Linked DNA regions of Homo sapiens: region 1 is linked to region 2. The links are contacts of gene promoters, found by promoter capture Hi-C in blood cells and fetal thymus (Javierre and others, 2016). All regions are on one chromosome and are shown on one strand. Each heading gives the region's core, a stretch centred on a gene start or on the middle of the fragment in contact. The rest is flanking DNA. Distances are from core to core; before and after follow the strand shown. Region 1 overlaps ATAD1 (ATPase family AAA domain containing 1). Region 2 holds the start of PAPSS2 (3'-phosphoadenosine 5'-phosphosulfate synthase 2).

The links. Contacts are between HindIII fragments. The CHiCAGO score rates a contact against its expected background, and 5 or more counts as called.
Region 1: a fragment that was not itself captured here is called in contact with the fragment with the promoter of PAPSS2 in region 2 in 2 of 17 cell types (megakaryocytes and endothelial precursors); the score reaches 5.1 in megakaryocytes.

What each region holds. Positions count from the first base shown.
Region 1 is chr10:87,756,432-87,761,886 of GRCh38, reverse strand. It overlaps ATAD1 (ATPase family AAA domain containing 1), which reads left to right. Exons shown (of 10, transcript NM_001321967.2): 9 at 4,965-5,098. Among named protein-coding and RNA genes, the nearest start is that of ATAD1, 59 kb to the left of the region's middle. The HindIII fragment of the contact is 1,683 bases long and covers 2,827-4,509 here.
Region 2 is chr10:87,657,098-87,662,301 of GRCh38, reverse strand. It overlaps PAPSS2 (3'-phosphoadenosine 5'-phosphosulfate synthase 2), which reads right to left and starts at 2,424. Exons shown (of 13, transcript NM_001015880.2): 1 at 2,294-2,424. The coding sequence starts at 2,320. RefSeq lists a silencer at 2,437-2,676. The HindIII fragment of the contact is 6,673 bases long and covers 328-5,204 here.

The sequences.
Region 1 (5,455 bases), core at 2,419-4,918, 98 kb before region 2:
CGGGAGGCTGAGGCAGGAGGATCACTTGAGCTTAGAAGTTCAAGGCTGCAGTGGATGCACCACTGCATTCTAGCCTGGGTGACAGAGCAAGATCCTGTCTCTAAAAAAGAAATAAGAGGAAGAAATTATACATGTCTCTTAATTTTAGTATTCAGTATTCTGCTTTCTTAGTACTGTCTTTGGAAATTCTTTTAGGATTATATTTTTCATGGCTACAGGGAATTTTTTTTTTAGACAATCTCTGCTTTGTCACCCAGGCTAGAGTGCAGTGGCACAATCTCAGCTCACTGCAGCCTCCCTGGGCTCAAGTGATCCCCCCGCCTCAGCCCCCTGAGTAGCTGGGACTATAGGTGCATGCACCACACCCAGCGAATTTTTTGTATTTTTAGTAGAAATGGGGTTTCGCCATGTTGCCCAGGCTGGTCTAGAACTCCTGAGCTCAAGAGATCCACCCATCTCAGCCTCCCAAAGTGCTAGGATTACAAGCATGAGCCATCCCACCCAGCAGATACAGGGAATTTTTAGCAATTCTGTTATTCATAAAACCACAAAGTATAGTCTCTAATCAGTTTTATGTTGCAAAATACGAATGCTCTCTGGATAATTGCTGACATGAGAACATCTCGTCATTTCCCACTGGTTGGTATTTATATGCTGAAGGATTACTGCTACTTCAATAAAATCTGAAGAAAATTAATTTAATTTTGTTAAAGATGCCTCAAATCAGTAGCACATATATTTATTTGGTAAACTGAGCACTGTCATACTTATACATTGTGGAGCTAAATAAGGGTTTTTTGTTGTTTTTTTTTTAAATTCACATGAACTTCCAGACTTTGAGTTCATCTTCTCTGAATAAAAGATTGAAGCTTTTGAAATGATACTGTGTTCTACTCTTTTACAATTATTTTATTGATAGGTATTCCTTAACATGATTCGCTTATTTTAAAAAGATAGTGTAGTGATTTTGGCTTAAGGTTTTAAGTATAAAAAGAATTAGCACTGATAAAATTTATACCCTATAAAAGTATTTCGTCTGACTTTAAGGAGGTAGCTTTTTTCCCTATACAAACTGACCTGAAATTACTTTTGTATGATATAGCAGCAATAGTTTTTGTTTTTTGTTTTGAGACAGAACTGACAGTCTCCTACATTCTAGCTGACCAGCCTCATCATTCTAGCCAGACTGGAATGCAGTGGTGTAATCCTAGCTCACTGCAGCCTTGAACTCCTTGGCTCAAGTGATCCTCCTGCCTCAACCTCCTGAGTAGCTAGACACACCCAGCTAGTTAACAAAATTTTTTTTGTTGAGATGGGGTCTGTGTTAGCCCGTTCTCAAACCGCTATAAAGAACTACCTGAGACTGGATAACTTATGAAGAAAAGAGGTTTAATTGACTCACCGTTCCACAAGCTGTACAGGAAGCATGGCTGGGAGGCCTCAGGAAACTTAACAATCATGGTCAAAGGCGAAGGGGAAGCAAGCATGTCTTACCATGGCAGAGCAGGAGTGGGAGAGAGTGAAGGGGGAAGTGCCACACATTTTTAAACCATCAGATCTTGAGAGAACTCACTCACTATCATGAGAACAAGGGGGAAGTCTGTCCCCATAATCCAATCACTTCCCACCAGGTCCCTCCCCCTAACACTGGGAATTAAATTCAACATGAGACTTCGGTGGGGACACAGAGCCAGACCATATCAGGGTCTCATCATTTGCCCCAGCTGGTCTTGAAATAAAATTATAAGTGTAAAATGCTTAGAGTACATAGATGTTATTTACAAGTATACTATTAATGGTGGATATAATAATAAACAACTGCATAAGTAAGTATCATTCTTTCAAGCTATTTTAGAAGTCTGTTAACTTATTCTGCTGTTGCTGCCTATACTCAAAAGCTTTTTAACTTGGGAATTGCCTTCAGAGTTGCCTAATGAAAAGAGTTCTCATTATTTCATGGTTTATCTAAAAGCTATTATCTTAGAACAAAATGAGCTACTTTTAGAGTGCTTGCTATGTGCCAAGCATTTTGGTGAGCTATACATTGTTTTATTTAATCCTCATTTATCTAAGGAGTACATATTAGTCCTATTTTACAGCTGAGGAAACTGAAACCCAGAGAAGTTTTGTAATAACTTGCCCAGGATTACACAAAGAAGTGATGGAGCCTACTCTTAACCATTAGGGTATGGTACCTCTTAATTAAATCTTGCTCCCCCAGTGACTGGAATCTTCTTTTCTTTGTTTTCTTATACTTGGTTGGTTCATCTTTCTAACTGTATCATCTTATCAGGCACAAGATTTGTGAGTGGTTAGAACATAGGGTGGCCCAACAACGGAGTGGTCAAAAGACAGGAGGAAGTGTTGGATGTTTAATTTTTAACATCTCAGAGTATAGTTTGGAAAGCTCTTTAAAGTAGTTTGTTAAATGTATGAAATATTTCAAACATATAAACAAATAGCCCCATTATCTTCCACCCATATTTAACAGGCAATTTTAATATATTTCCACATTTGCTTCATTTTTTTTTTAATTAAGTACAGCCTTAAGCAACCACTGGCCACTTCCCATTATCACCGTCATTGGTAACCTGCTGTCCAGGAGTTGATAGAGTTTATCAATCCCGTGAATATATGTGAACAGATACCTAATGCATGTGTATAGGTATATGTTATTTTTATTCTTTTTACAAACAGTAGAAAAATTAGATCCTTGTATGTGTCTGTTTCTTAAGGACACATGAGAAGAGTTTCTCAATTCACAAAAAATTAAAAACTACAAAGGAAAGAGAATAGAGAAGTCTGACTATAATCAGACTTAAAGCTTCTGTGTCACGGGGTAACATGAACAAAGTGAAAAAACAAGCCACAATGAAAATATTTGCAACCCTATAACCATCAAAGGACTAAGATCTAAATTATATACATGTATGTACATGAGATCACAGGTGCTGTCACCGGTCCTAAGAACTCACTGATGTGGCAGTACATGAGACATAAGTTAAAAATCTTCCAGTATTGTGAATTTGCCCATTTTTATATGTAATTATATAAATTTCTGCTGTATATGTTTTGAGGCCATGTTACATGTATGTCTACAGGGGCAGAATTGTTGTATTTTTCTGGTGAATTTTTTTTTATCATTATATAATGACTTCTCAATTATGCATTTTGAGTAAAAATCTGATGTAACTAGAACTACATTAGCTTTCTTTTTATTAATCGTTGATGTCTTTCAGTCTTTTACTTCCTGCTTTTCTTTGTTTTTATTTCAAATGTAACACAAAGACTGTTTTTTTCCCTTTAGCATAAGTATTGTCTATTATAAACCTCAAATAGCTACATTTTGGGTTCTTTTGTATAAAATCTTTTACCAGCCAAGTTTAGTCTATTTGCATTTATGGTAATTACTCATAAATTTGGATTCATTCATTATTATTTTAATGCTTTCCATTTATTATGCTTTTTCTTTGCTTATTTGTCCCAACCCTCTAGTCCTGAGTTTGTTAATACTGCTCTTGTATTCTTTATTCTGTTTTTCTCCCTTCCTCTATTGGTTTGGAAATTACACATTCTCTTTCTTCCTTTAGTGTACCCTTTCTATCCTTTAGTGGTACCTATGTATTTTGACATACATACATAAAGTCTAAGTTAATAATATCTGTACCCTCTTTTTAATGCTTTAATTGTAACACTTTAGAGTACTTTAATGTAGATGTCTCCTCTGTCTTACATGTCCTTATTGTACAGCATTTTAGCTCCACTTTGTTTTTGTACCCCAAATGATTATGACTACTATAATAACTATTATTACTACTATTTATATAGCTAAAGTTTATTTAGATTTATCCATGTATTTACCATTTGCTTTGCTTATCATTGCTGCTTGCACTCCTGCCCTCTGGGTTCAGTTTCTTTTTATCAAAAAACATGATTTATCTTCATGTAACCCTCATGTTTAGGAATGAGAGCACTGTCATGTGAGGTCACAGTTGCAGAGCTGGCAGTGTTGTCTCACCTTCAAGTCTCTTGTCCTTGTGTAGAGTTGCTGTTCTTCCTAAAACACTGTGTCTTCCACGTATACAAATGGGAATTTAGTAAATATAATACAAATACAAATGGGAATTTAGTAACTATAAGGTGTCATTTCACATCAGTGGGGGAAAGTAAATGTTGCTGTAACAAGTGATGAGCTGAACAGGGGAAAAATACAGCTGGACCTCACTATATTGTGTTCAAATCCTGGCTCTGACCGTGTTTACCTGTCCAGGTCTCATGATTCTTATCTGAAAATGAAATTGATAGTTTCTGAGAAGATTAAATGAGAATAATACATGCAAAGTGCTTACCCCAGTGAATGAGACATAAGAATCATTTACTAGATGGTAGTTATAGATTTTTTTCTTGCTTATTTTCTCTTCTTAATCTGTACATAAGTTTAGTATGATTAGACTATCTCAAGTCTATTATGTGGCTAGGACAGTCACTTAATTGGCTTGACTATAAGCTTAGCTTGAGGAGCAAAAGTATAGGTGCTAAATTCATGTTGAGATAATAGAATACCAAGCATTACAATTAAAAGGAATGTTGAGTGTTTTGTTTTTTTTTTTTTGTAATGGACTCTTGATGTAGGTTATTTGCCAAGTACTGTATGTTGAATGTATTACAGAAAAATGTCACCTTGGTACCTTCTTGAGAGATATCAAAGAAAGTCCAATATCCGTTCTTCCCCATCACTCTACAGTGTATCTAGTAATAATTATTTGTCTTAATCATAAGGACAAATAATGAAAATTATATTTCAAATTTCTAAGCTTTTGTGGTTAAAAAAAGCTTCTAGAAACTATTGTTTCTCCTCCCATGCAGTTATAATATGCTTAACTTTCTTTAAGATGGGTGTTTGGTAGTATCATTTACAATATATTTATTTTTGTTTTTTAAGCATGTTTTTATATTTGTTTAAGGTGGATAGGCATGTAGACCTGCTAGAAGTTGCCCAGGAAACTGATGGGTTTTCAGGAAGTGACCTAAAAGAGATGTGTCGAGATGCTGCCCTCCTCTGTGTTAGAGAATATGTTAATTCTACATCAGAAGAAAGGTATGTTATTTTGACTTGATTTTTAACACTTGTCAAAATCTTTTAGAGCTTTTAGGTTAGTTTCTTTTATTTTGCTTTATATTAGAAACACCGCTTATGAAATAAAAGGTAAATTTGGATTATCACCCCCTGCAACTTTATTTATTGCCATTTTTCCAAAGCAGAATTCTGAAAATGAAGGAGGGCAGAATTGTGGGAAGGGTCTAGAATGAAGGAGAAAAAAGGTGAATTTCTTCTGATGATCCGTGGAAATTTCACATGTAAATGTGAGGGGAAATTTCCCATGTAAATTGGAGATATTGAAGACTAGACCTCAATTTGTTAACGAAAATGTATTTACTGAACAAAGAAACCATT
Region 2 (5,204 bases), core at 1,175-3,674:
TGTGGCCAAAAAAACCTGGAAAAGAGGTATCTCCTTTTCCGCCTCCCCCACCCAGTATACCACCTGGCATACAGTAGGTGCTCAACAAATATTTGAAGTTACTGTAGTGGCTGCTGTGTGAATTAACTGTCCTCTGTTGACAGTGCAGTAAACAATGTGATGATTCCTATAAGACCGTAAAAGATCAGCTCAGTCTCACTCCTAGGCTAGCTTGTGAGGTCAGCAATACTTATCAAACAATTGATTAGTTCAGAGGTCACACAAGCGGACAGATTTTGCTTTGGCCTGCAAGGTTTCAAAACACATTTTGAATGAACATTCAAAGCTTGAGAGATTCCACATGCATTTACAGCTGGCTTGCTGTAAATAGTACCGATAGTACCTATCTAGCCCTTTTGGGAACTTGGGTTGGTGCCTGGGTTATAACTGCGTTAGACTAAATCAAAATTCAGAAAAGTTCTATTTCAGTTAGCTGTTTCAGGAGTTAATTTAATGCTGTATAAAACAGACACACACATACACCCACCTAACAAAAAATAGAAGGTTCAGAATGTGTAAATACAAAAACCAAACCCTCCGGCCCTCAAATTTCTCACTGCTTCTGACTGTGCAGAGCCCCCGCAATTGATTTGTAATGACCCTGTTCTCAAACCCTCCTCTTCCTGGGCTCCTGCCGACTGGAGGCATCAAGAGGAGAGACCACCTCGTCCCTTTCTAATGCTTGACAAAGTCCCCCATCACAACTGAGAAGGAATTCTTGATGCAAGCAGGAAGGTGGGAATTAAAACCCCACTGATATAAAAAGCTACTGGCACAGCGGCTTGCCATTTAGAAGACACTATTTAGGATTTTACAGAAATTAATCGCATTAAATAGGAACAAAATACAAGTGATTTTCATTTATTATTTCAAAAATATGTTACAACGCTGAGAGTCCCCCACTTAAAAATTACTCCTGAGAAAGGCAGCTGGATTTTGATAAATGTCCCTTCCCAAATTGATGCCACCTACACCCTGGACCCTCCTGCTGGTCCAGTATGGTCCCTGGAGCCACAGAGCCCCCACCCTGTTCTCTTGCTGCTCAAATGACCCTTCTAGCCCTGCATGGCCCCTCCACACTCCTTCCCCACTTCTTGGCTTTATATTTTGTTTTTTTTTTTAAACCTCTCCCCGGCCCACCACAAATACACCTCAAAGATATTTCGGTAATACACATTATATAAGAATAAACATTTATCAGGCACCTACTATGTGTCCATTGCACGTCTATCTACTAGAGAGAGGTCAACCCATTCAGTAACCAGTACAATCATCTGAGGCTTGCAGGGTGGTGGCTGAAGATAGAATGTTCAGCGGCCAAACTGCTGAGTAGGATTTTATCAAGGCTTGCTGACCACATCTGACGTGGCCCCAGTGCTGTCTAGAAGGCGCCATCCAACTCTAAGAGTCTATGATTACTGCTCCCGGTTTTTTTTTTTTTTTTTTTTTTTTTTTTTTCAGTTTATTGGGGTATAATTGACAAATAGAACTGCTGCCATTTTTAAGAATGCAAAATTTATAGGTGCCCATGTTGCTGGGAAAGAAACTTTTCTCTTTGACACGCCCTCATATTTCCCATTAAAGGAGGACAGCTCAGATTATTAATTCTGGGTAAAAGTGTGCCTCCTCAACACAGTCCCCTCATCTTACTCCACCAAACCGAGGGGCACCCTCACCCCTCATTACTGAACTCGAGATGCCACCCAATGCCGAAATCAAGCTAGAGGGCTAAATCCCGCCAGTGTAGAAATGCAATTTCCTCCAGTTTGCTTTGATAATTGCAGTTTCCTCTATGAAAGTCCGTCATTAAAGCCCACTCCAAGGAAGTTCCCATAGACAAAACCCCAGCGACCAGACCTGGCAGAACGGGAGTCAGCTCGATCTGCTCCGAGACCCTACAGAAGAAAAGGCGGGTCTGGAAGAGCTCTTGGGAAAGAAAGGGGATTTCCTGTCCCTGGTCCTGGATCTAGATCCGGACCCACTTGAGAAGCTCGGGAGGTCTCTCGCGGGCGCGGCGACCCCAAGGAGCGCAGATTCCCAGAGTCGCGGGGTGGAGAGGGGCTGCGGGGCGAGGACTGCCCCGGGAATTCCACACAGAGCCTCTTTCTCTTGCTTCCCTCCGTGCCCCACTCTTACTCCTCCTCCCGACGCCCCCTCCCGGGGAGGGTGGGACCCAAGTGCCGGGGAATTGGGGGTTGGGGGTCGGCGCGTGCAGTGCGGTGGCGGGGAGGGAAGCCGGCGCCTGGAAGCCTACCGTCTTTTGCTTCTTGATCCCCGACATGCTGGCTGGCTGCGGCGGAGCCCGGGTCCCGGGAGCAGAGACCGAAGGACGCAGGGACGGCGGCGGCGGCGGCGGCAGCAGCAGCAGCAGCAGCAGCAGCGGCTGCCGGACTCCCGGGAAGGAGGTATAAAAAGGCTCCGCAGACACGTCGCACTTCCCTTGACCAGCCCCCTTCTCCTACTCCTCCTCCCGCCACGCTCCTCTCCGCCCCGTCGGTTCCGCAAGCAGCGCCCAGCCTTGGGGACCCGGCCGCCGCCGCCTAGGCGGGGTCCCCGGCCCGGCCCCTACTCGCGGGCGCGCGCTCCGCCAGCCCCGGTCCCGGGCGAGACCTTGCAGCGGAGCGGCAGATGGCACGCCCGGCACGCGGCCTGGGGTCAAGTTCACCCCGCCCGCCCCACCCCCAGAGGGTCCCAGAGCGTCCTCCACTCCCCTCACCAGCCTCCCGCGCCTCTTCAAGGAAGTCTTCCTGCCTCTAGGACCTAAGAGCTTATTTGGTTAAGGGCAAGGATGCTTGAAGCCGCCAGGTTTGTTGGCAGGATCCTCATATGCAGTAGTAAAAACGAAGGTTCACACTCATGGATCCTTACAATGCACTCCGCTGGGCTCTGCCTTAATTCTCATGGGCCCCCTCCATCCTGCCCCGACCCCGGGCAGCAAGTCCTACTATCTTCCAGTTTTACAAACGAGCAATTGAGGCTTTCAGACTTTGCCAAGATTATATTCCAAATGAGGGGATTCAAACCCAGGCTGACAGCCTCCTCAGTGCAGGCTTTCTTCACCAGCATCATCACACATGGTGATAACTCCCAAGGTTCACAGCTTGTCTGTTCACTATGCATCGTGCTGAGGGGCTTCCATGCACTTCCTCCATTCCCGCTCACAACAGTATCGTCAGGTTACAGGTATGGGCCTGTGGAGGCACGGCCCCTCCTCACAACGACAAGCAAGTGGCAATGGCCAATGGAAGCCCAGCAACTTGTTTCAGTCCACCCCCAAAGTAGCACTTCTGTTCCACTGGAATGGGCCCTGAGGAGGAGGAAAAGGAGGCACAAGATGAGCAGGCTTAGGCCTAGGGCGCCAAGATTTTACCAGAAGGCAGTATGGGGCAACCCTCTGAACGAACCCAAAGGCAGTATGGGGCAACCCTCTGAACGAACCCAAATGTCAAGGCCAAGTAGAGGTGAGGGAGAGAAGCTCTAGTGACAAGCACTTTGGGGGCAGTCACTGGGTCTCACACCCCTTGTACCTTAACTGACTCCTTGTGTAATGCTACAAACGGATGGATATGACCATACTCTCAAAAGAAGTAACGTAACACACAAGGGCCACACTTCTCATTCCCACTCTAGTGTTCCTGCTGTGAAAGAGTTGGAGTAATATTCTATGGAGGTGAGGGATGGGACTTTTCTTTCATACCTAATTGTATTTCTGGAAGACTGCCAGCTTTCCAGACAGACACTTGATCTGAGTATTCATTGACTGCCCTTCGCCGTGGGAAGGTGGGAAAGAAAAATAAATCAGGAGTCAGAAACGTAAAAGGCAGCCTGCATGTCTGTACAGTCTAGAGTTGTAAGCTGATTTATTTTCTTACTCATTTTGAGTAAACTGCCACCACTGCCTTCCAATGTAAGCAGCTAGGGGCAAATACTGAGTTTGAGTTTCTGTTCTGCATACAAACTAGCACATTTTAAATGTATATGAAGTTTAAATAGCAACATCCTATTCTTATTTCATTGGAAAAATCCTTTTATATTAGTTTCCACCATATCTTAGACTCTGCCAGATCTTGCCCTAAGAAAAGGTAAAGTAAATGTGAATTGAAAAATAGCAATTTGCGGCCTGGCACGGTGGCTCATGCCTGTAATCCCAGCACTTTGGGAGGCCGAGGCAGTCAGATCACCTGGTATCAGGAGTTCGAGACTAGACTGACCAACATGATGAAACCCTGTCTCTAATAAAAATACAAAATTAGCCAGATGTGATGGCATATGCCTGTAATCCCGGCTACTTGGGAGGCTGAGGCAGGAGAATCGCTTGAACCCGGGAGGCAGAGATTGCAGTGAGCCGAGATTGCGCCATTGCACTCCAGCCTGAGTAACAAGAGTGAAACTCCATCTCAAAAAAAAAAAAAGAAAAATAGCAATTTGCGTGATTGTTATTTTGTTTTTATATTGCATCTAAAAACAAAAAGCTGTCTTCTTGAAACAGGAAGTTAAGGACAAATACGTAAGCTACTTCCTGGAAAAGAAATATATGATTGTTTAGATCTGGGAGAGGTTGTGAGATCATTTGTCCAATTTCCCCATTCCTGTATTTTACATATGAGCAATGTAAAACTGGCGCTTAGGGAAGGGAGGGCATCTGACCGTAGTCACTAGTTAGGAGCAGAGCTGAGGCTTTAACGCAGGTCAGCCTGACTTCCCAAGTGCTCTGACCCCAAATGTCCTGCCCACTGAGTCACCCAACTTCCACGCCAACTATTTCAATACCCCATGATAACTGTAAACAGGACTGCTTATCTTGTTTTAGATTTCATTCATTCTCAAAAATTATTTTGGAATAGGCATTCTTTTACTGTGAAAATGGAGGCCTCAGTTCTTTTGGACTCAAGCTAGGCTGTTTATGACCCTTTGATGTCACAGATCACCAATTTAGTCGTGATTCAGCACAGCAGTTTACTAAAAAGCAAAACACTCTTTTTTTATTTTCTCAGGGTCTTTCCTTTTAAAGGCAATAGATTTCTTTTTCATCTCACTACCCTCTTGCTCTTAGGAGAGGACATTCCTTCTGAAAAGATATGAGCAACGAGAAACTTAATTTTCGGAGCCTATGATTCGGACATATAGGAACTGGGAGAAGACTCATTCAGGGGACAGAGGAAGGA